2 separate regions of the Homo sapiens genome follow, and region 2 is linked to region 1. Evidence: promoter capture Hi-C in 16 types of primary human blood cells and fetal thymus (Javierre and others, 2016). All regions are on one chromosome and are shown on one strand. The core of a region is centred on a gene start or on the middle of the fragment in contact, and the rest is flanking DNA. Distances in the headings are between cores, read along the strand shown.

Evidence for each region. Contacts are between HindIII fragments. The CHiCAGO score rates a contact against its expected background, and 5 or more counts as called.
Region 2: a fragment that was not itself captured here is called in contact with the fragment with the promoter of KPNA3 in region 1 in 1 of 17 cell types (total CD4 T cells); the score reaches 5.6 in total CD4 T cells.

What each region holds. Positions count from the first base shown.
Region 1 is chr13:49,790,888-49,794,883 of GRCh38, reverse strand. KPNA3 (karyopherin subunit alpha 3) reads left to right here and starts at 2,202. Exons shown (of 17, transcript NM_002267.4): 1 at 2,202-2,446. The coding sequence starts at 2,378. RefSeq lists enhancers at 1,907-2,036, 1,840-2,501, 2,502-3,163, 3,168-3,687 and silencers at 2,107-2,356, 2,477-3,046. The HindIII fragment of the contact is 6,989 bases long and covers 1-3,996 here.
Region 2 is chr13:50,892,141-50,896,136 of GRCh38, reverse strand. The region is part of intron 1 of RNASEH2B-AS1 (RNASEH2B antisense RNA 1); the gene reads left to right. Among named protein-coding and RNA genes, the nearest start is that of RNASEH2B, 16 kb to the left of the region's middle. RefSeq lists enhancers at 2,402-2,551, 2,022-2,561. The HindIII fragment of the contact is 2,618 bases long and covers 1,438-3,996 here.

The DNA.
Region 1 (3,996 bases), core at 953-3,452:
CTGATATTCTGAAGTGACTGAAATGCTTAAGTCCATTAACAAAATGTGAATTAACATTTAAAAATAAAGAGAAAAAGAATCTACCTTTTTGGTTTTCCTTGAAAAGTGGAATCTTCTGGCAACACTGGGCCACAGTCCAGTATGACCAGAGGATCTGAAGCCTGTGTTTATCAATAGGCCACACCCCACCACTCACAAGACGAATGCCCCTGGACATAGCTTGGCCACCAAAGGCTTCTGAATTCCTGACTTCTGGGCCTCAGGTTCTTTAAGGCCCTTTCGCTTTTTTTTTTTTTTTTTTTTCTGTATCTCCTCATATATTTATTCTTTTTCTGTGATCAGTGTCCTTTGCATGTTTTTGTTGGGTTGTTTGAATTTTTTATTTTTATTTTTTGGGGATGGAGTCTCACTCTGTCGCCTAGGCTGGAGTGCAGTGACACGATCTCAGCTCACTGCAACCTCCGCCTCCCAGGTTCAAGCAATTCTCCTGCCTCAGGCTCCCAAGTAGCTGAGATTACAGGTATGCGCCATATGCCCGTCTAATTTTTGTATTTTTTTTAGTAGAGGTGGGGTTTCACCATGTTGGCCAGGCTGGTCTCGACCTCCTGACCTTGTGATCCACCCACCTCGACCTCCCAAAGTGCTGGGATTACAGGCATGAGCCACCGCGCCCAGCCAAGGCCCTTTCGCTTTAAAGATTGTCCTTTTTGATCTCTTCATGGTATAGTCCTACCAACTTTTGACCTCAGTTCAATTATAAGTACTACAACATTACATACCTGCTCATGTCTACCATAGATTCTGAAAATTAACATACAAGCAAATGAAGCCCACCTGCTCCAGAAAGTAGCTTTTTGTTTTTGTTGTTGTTGTTTTTGTTGTTTTGTTTGAGACAGAGTCTCCCTCTGTCGCCAGGCTGGAGTGCAGTGGCGCCATCTCGGCTCGCTGCAACCTCCGCCTACCGGGTTCAAGCGATTCTCCTGCCTCAGCCTCCAGGCATGCGCCACCACGCCCAGCTAATTTTTGTATATTTAGTAAAGAAGGGGTTTCACCATGCGGGCCATGGTTGGCCAGACTGGTCTCGGTCTCTTGACCTTGTGATCTGCCCTCCTCGGCCTCCCAAAGTGCTGGGATTACAGGCGTGAGCCACCACACCCGGCCGAAAGCAGCTCTTTATCAGTGTAATCCATCCAAATTTCCCTCTTTCATTCTTTCGATGCCCCCAGAGGGAGTGGGAGTGCTACACAGGAGAGTCTGCGGACCAGGGCTGGGCTGCTGCCTGAAGGCTAAGATTCTGTGTGGTGGTAGAACAAGAAGTGTTGGGGGGCATGTAAATACAGGGACTGCCAGAGTGAAGGTTGCAGAACCGGGCTTGGAAGGATGATGAAGAAACTGGGCGACACTAAAGCGCCAGTTCAACAAGTATTGCGTATCTACGACGTGGTAGGCATTGTTTTGACACTAGAGATTCAGCAGTAATTCAACCAAAGTACCTGCTCTCATTGAGCTGAATTTCCGCGCGGGCACCTAGGTAACGCATATAAACACTCGTATCACATACATACACATGTACATGTCAGGTAGAAATGCTATTTATAAAACTGAAGCAGAGCATGGGAAGAGCGAATGAAGGTGGCTATTTGAGAAGACCCCCAAAAAAGCGAGACTGCAAAGCACTCGCGGTTGTTCCTTTTCTGATCTTCTAGCTACAGGCAGCGAGGTGCGCTCCCAGGAAGGCCCGCCCTCTTCCTCCTGATAGGGCGCAAGGTGCCAGGGACGCTCCCCCGCTCTTCCCCGCCCAGAGGCGGCCTTGTGGGGGCGGAGCTTTGTGCCCAGCAACATGAGCGCGGCGCGCAAAGAGCCGCGCGCGGAAGGGTCCCGGCATTCTCCTCGTTCTCACTAGGCGTGGAGAATTACTCCAGGCGGATCGTGGCATGATGGGAACTGTAGTTGACGACCGCCGCCCCGCGCCTGAGGGGCAGTAAAAGTCGCCAGGTCCGGCTCCATTTCTGGCACAAAACTTGCAGCACCGAGGGGTTGTGGAGAGCCCTTGCAGGGGAAGAGGGCAGGGTCATCCCGAGAACCAACGGGCACGTATAGCCCGGCGAACGCCCAAGCCGGTCACCGCCCCCGGTCACGTGTCGCCAGCCTCCGCGGCCGCGCGCCGCTCTCAGCACCGTTCCCGCCCCACCCGGCCCGGCAGTCGGCCCGCGCCTCCCCCGGCGCTACTGCCACCTCGCGCTCGGAGGCGTCACAGAACGTGCTCTTCTCTCCCCTCCCCCCTCCCGCTCTCCCCCTCCTCCCCCTCCCGCTCCAAGATTCGCCGCCGCCGCCGCCGCAGCCGCAGGAGTAGCCGCCGCCGGAGCCGCGCGCAGCCATGGCCGAGAACCCCAGCTTGGAGAACCACCGCATCAAGAGCTTCAAGAACAAGGGCCGCGATGTGGAAGTGAGTGTGCTTCCGCGGTCTGGGCCCGCCTGGCCGCGCCGGCCCGGCGACGCGGGGAGGGGCGGGGGGCCGGCGCCGGGCTGGTTCTCGTCGGCTTGTGGTCGGCCGGAGTTGGCCGCCGCCTCCCGTCACCGCGGCCCCGGGCTGGGCGGAGCGGGCGGCGAGACGCCGGCCGGGCTGCAGTCACCCCCCGGAGCTGCCGGCGCGGCGACCGGGAAATGCCGGCGTTTTCGGCCCCGTCACGCGGGCGCGGCCTGGTGTCGGCGAGGAGGGGATGTGGAGCTGAGGCGGGGTCCGCGGGCCAGGGCCGCCCGGATGAACGGGGATGCTGCCGCCCGGGCCCTCCGACCGCACAGCCGAGGGGGCGGCCGCTGCTTGCGCCCGCCACCGGTGCAACCTTCCGTCCGGTGCAGCCCCCTCTGCGCCTCCCGCGCGGCTCACATGGAGCCTCGGCTCTGCCGGTCCGGGCTCCTACCTTCTGCGAGCCGGGCCCAGGCGGGCGGTGGCGGCCCGCAGAGGGGGGTGGGGACCAGCCGGGTAACTGACTTGTTTGAGGGTGATCGATGGGGGAGGGTAGGATGCGCCAGGACCATTTTCTTATATTCCAGTGCTCGTCTTTGGACTAGTCGTGCCGAGCTGTTGCAGCTCATACTCCTGCAACTGCTGGCATTTGGAGCGAGCTGAAGGTGGACAATAGTTTGCCATCTATTGTGTTCAGGCTTCGGAAAAGAGGTTGCTCCGACCTCCGCTCATAGGACTTGTTTTCTTAGCCTTTCTTGGAGTGGGGTGTGCATAGGGTGATAATTTCTTTGACACGTTTTACTAAAATAAATTGGATACACAGGTTCATAATTCTCTTACATACCTCTTGCTCCAAGCTAGTAGAATTTCCAAGTGGTTGCAAAACTAAACATTCATCGCGGTCACTCAGTTAGTTGCTACTCAGCATGTTGCCATTGTCTCATTAAGGTGACATTAGCAGGTACTATTTGCAAACTCGGCTTATTGAGGCAGCGCTAGAGGTCTCTCTGCAGCTACTGAAAACAGTAAGTATAATGCACAAACTTCACTGGGACCGTGACCTTTGGATTTGTTAGGGGGAAAATGGTTTTAAGGCCGCAGCCTTCTTTGCTAATACTAGGCGACATGATTTGCAGTTTTGTAATTTTTGATAAGCTAGTGTGATTAAGAGGTGTGTTTTATCCTGTCTTAAGGAAGGTTGTGGGGTAAATATACCATTCAGTGTTCTATTTTGTAGAGAAACAGACAAACTCAGGCCGTTTTTCAGAGCTACAAAATTAAATACTAGTAGGAAAGAACCTAGGGAGATATCCGTGGAATTCCCATTTAAATGAGTCAAATAAAGATCATATATTCTTTCCTGGTCATGGTTAAATACCCTTTGTAAGAAATACATCTAAGCGAAAGTAAAACTTGGGAATAGGAACAAGAAATTTTGGAACTGCCTCCTGTTATTGGTCCACTTGATGACAAGTGTTAATTTTGAACTTTTCCCATTAGGAATTTTTCTTGAAGCCTATCCTGTTCCA
Region 2 (3,996 bases), core at 1,497-3,996, 1.1 Mb before region 1:
ACCTTAACTTGGAGCTTTAAACTCTTTTCCAAATGGTTTGTCCTTTAGATTTTCACTGCATCTAAGCACTGTGAGCTAGTTATTTCTCAGAAAACACCAATAACAGTAATAACAGCTAATATGGCAAAAATGAAAAATTCAGACGACTTAACTATACAGTGTTTATATAATGTTCATGTGCCATTGAGAAGGGGTGCTGGAAATGAGTTTTCAGCCTCAGTGTACCAGGACAGCAGGTCGAGCACAGAACTGAAGCCTTGGGCTCTGTCCTATCTCTAGGTCTAGTCTATTGCTTTCTTAGTCAAGTCATTTCCCCATTGTAGGTTTACCTAAAAAGAGGGGATTAAGCTGAATAAACTAAAAGAAAAAAAAAAAAACACAACATTTTTTCAGCTCAAACTTTATAAAACTACATTTGTTCATGTTTTGGGAGTTCCAGCATGAGCCTAGCTTGACATCGTAGGGTATAACAGGGCCTATTTTTCAGGTGGGTAGGAAAAGTCTAGTTGCATAATGATAGAATTATCTTGGGAGAATAACCCACTAAAAGAAGCTCACACCCTTGGGTCAACCACAGTGCTCTAGCACTGGAAAAAGAGGACAACATTGAGTTATATTGTTTACTACTTAGAGCTTCTTCTGGCCCAGTCCCTGGGATTAGTAGTTAAATTCTAGGAAAATTTCAGAGACATTGGAGTACAAATTACTCATAAGACCACTTAAATTAATTAAGTAGTTTCACCTACGAGGAATCAAAATACCTGACTCAAGCTTGTGTATGCAATAAGAACATTTATCTACATAACTGGATTTCAAAGGTAGGGCAGCATTAGTTTCATCCTAAGACTGGTTCTCCTTGTGCTCGCAATATGGCTGCCAGTGGCCATGGGGGATATATACTTCCTGGTATACAATGTAACATGAAATATGAGTCCTTGTTTTTATTCTGCTTATTTCATCTCGGATTATGGTGCCCATCCCTGTACTAATCTCAGGGGATGGAAGACTGCCATTGGCTTCACCTAATTAGGTTCTATCACCAGTGATCCAGATATGGTCAGTTTCCTCTGAGGTATTTGGAAAATAGGTAGTTTTCTGAAAATTACTTTGGTTCTCTAAAGTACTAATGAATATTTTGCAGAAAATGAACACCTTCCATGACTCTCACCCACTGGTGTCTGGGCTGGTGGGACAAGAGAGCATCTGCTGTTTGATGAAATAAATTTATGTTGAGGTTATCAGAGCAGGAGGTTGTTGACAAGCACGGGTGTCTATAATGGTCTTGTAAGAGCTGAAAGTGTTACTGGCGGTGAATCTGTATAGGTCTGCAGCAACAATTCTTACCTTCTCAGAAGAAAGAATTTGGCTCAGGGGCATAAGGCAGAGTGAGAGACTGAGGCAAGTTTTAGAGCAGTGGTGAAAGTGTATTAAAAAGCTTTAGAGCAGGAATGAAAGGGAGTAAAGTACACTTGGAAGAGGGCCAAGCAAGCAACTTGGGAGATCAAGTACACAGTTTGACCTTTTGACTTTGAGTTTTATATGCTGACATACTTACAGGGTCTTGGGTCCCCTCTCCCCTGATTCTTCCCTTGGGGTGGGCTGACCACTTGTGTGCTAGTGCTTGGGAGGGGCCGCATGCGCAGTGTGTTTACTGGAGTTGTACACATGCTTACTTGAAGCACTCTTCTCTTACCAGTTGATTGCTCCTAGAAGGTCATATACCAGTCAAACTCTGCCATTTTGCCTCTTAGTGTGCATGCTTGAACCCACTGGCCCAACTCCTGAGATCTTATCCGGAAGCTGCTGATCACCAGTTTCAGGTGTTTTCTATCTATTGGGAGGCTGCCTTTCCCTGGCATCTGGGTTTCTCATTCACTGCTATTGACTTGGGCCGAAATTACATGTTCCATGCAGCTGGAAGGAAGTTGCCTAAGAAAAGCTATCAAACACTTGTGAGGATTGGAGACTACAGCAAATCCACAAGTGATGAACCTGCTGGCTAGTTCAAGAAAATTCAAGAAATATATTTGGACAGACCTCTAGAGATTTGGCTAAAATAAAGAAGAGCAGACACTTAAAAAAGTATTTTTTCTTTGATTTGTGGTATAATTTTAAATCATGAATCTAACCCATTTCTTGATAGGTGGGTTTGAACTACAGAAATTCTAGTTCAACTTTTACCTCTTCTGAAGGCATCATTTTAATGTTAATGCATGTTGATATATGTCTCCTTTCTTTAGCAATAGGACTTCCTTGAGCTGATTAGAGTAGCTGTGCCATCTGCAAAAACTCTACCTTAATGCATCTACTTTAAAACCTTGAAAACCTTAATGCATCTACTTTGCATGTAAACAGGGAGCATGGCTGTGGCCTAACTGAATTTCAATGCCTGTAAGTGTGGTTTCCTGAAAAAGAAAATGAAACCCTGTCTCCATGTCTTCACAGCATGCATACTTTTTTTTTTTTTAAACTGTGCATCTGAGTCACACTGAACAACTCTCTTTCTACTCCAAAGGGGGAAAATAAGTTAAATTTATGTTTCATGCCTGTAAGGCATTTTAAAGTTAATCGGGCCCTTTGGGCCTAATTTAATTTGTGTAAGATTGCTGTTGATGATTAGAATAGCTATTTAAGATTTTTGTTAACAGTCTGTTATGTGGACTTAATGGAAGCACTCCAAAAGCAGTCTGTTCACTTTCCCCTGTCAAATTCAGGTTACAGAGCCTTCACAGATGTGAGTAGACATCAATACGAAAAGGGGATAGAACACAAATTAAAATCAGAAGTGTACTCAAACTGCCAGTGTTGAGCTTTGGTTAAAAACATCTGTCACATAAAAGCAAACACTCAGAGCCGTTACGTCTTGTAACAGTTGTCTTTATTTTTCATATCTTTGGCATTTTCATCATTTCATGTTAGTGCTGTCTTTGGAATTTTTCATACAAGTGATTGCTTTTTTTAACATCACTGATTTCTCTACACAAACATTTGTAAGGCTTTTGTCTCAACACTACAAAGAGAGAGAATATCAAGCAGAGCTGGAATTTGAATGGTCTCGTAGAATCTGAAAAATGCTAAATGACGAGTTAATGGGTGCAGCACACCAGCATGGCACATGTATACATATGTAACTCACCTGCACATTGTGCACATGTACCCTAAAACTTAAAGTATAATAATAATAAAAAAAGATTTTACTTTAAAAAAAAAAAAAAAGAAAAATCGGCTGACCAACGCAGAGCACTTTAGCGAAGTGAATGTATTTGACTCATTCTGGCCAACATTAGATCAAACTCTCCCTTTGATTCCTGCTACAAGGTTATTTTTCATCGTTTCAAAATTTACAGCTACCATTCTTATTTTACAGATGTCAGTGATCATAAGAAGCCCAGGTCTCCCTTCGGTACTATCAAGGAGATTTCAGGATGCTCTTGAGTCACTTTCCTGATATTTGTCATAAATCACATCTATTTTTTTCAGAGTTAAGATTTTATTTCTCTCATTACTTTGTTTCATAGCTTTTACAATTTCATTCCTTTATTCTGTTTTCATTTTCTGTTTTCCAGGCGTTGTATTTCAAAACCATGGCCCTTCTATTTCCTCTTTCTTATTGTTTTTCTCTTCCATGTTCACTTCTGCCTTCCTTAATTTTCTTTCCCTTCCTTTACTCTCATTTCTTTCACAGAGTGAGTGATTTCTGTGAAAGCAAGGTAAGTGTCTCATGGGGTCCAGCTAAGGATGCAACCACCAAAGGCAAGATCAAGAGACAAATGAGCTCCACCTCCCCCAGCGCCATGTTCCCCTGCCCAGGAAACACCACCTGCTTCCTATGTGGCTGGAGGGGTGGGGGCTGTGCACAGCAGTGAAGATGCTAGGAGATTACAGGCAGATATTTTGCAAATAATCTCTTCTAAAGTTATTGATTCATATAAGTGGAATATAAGATTTACGTTAATCCTATTCCTTAAATCAGAAATGTCTAATGTTATACTGTTT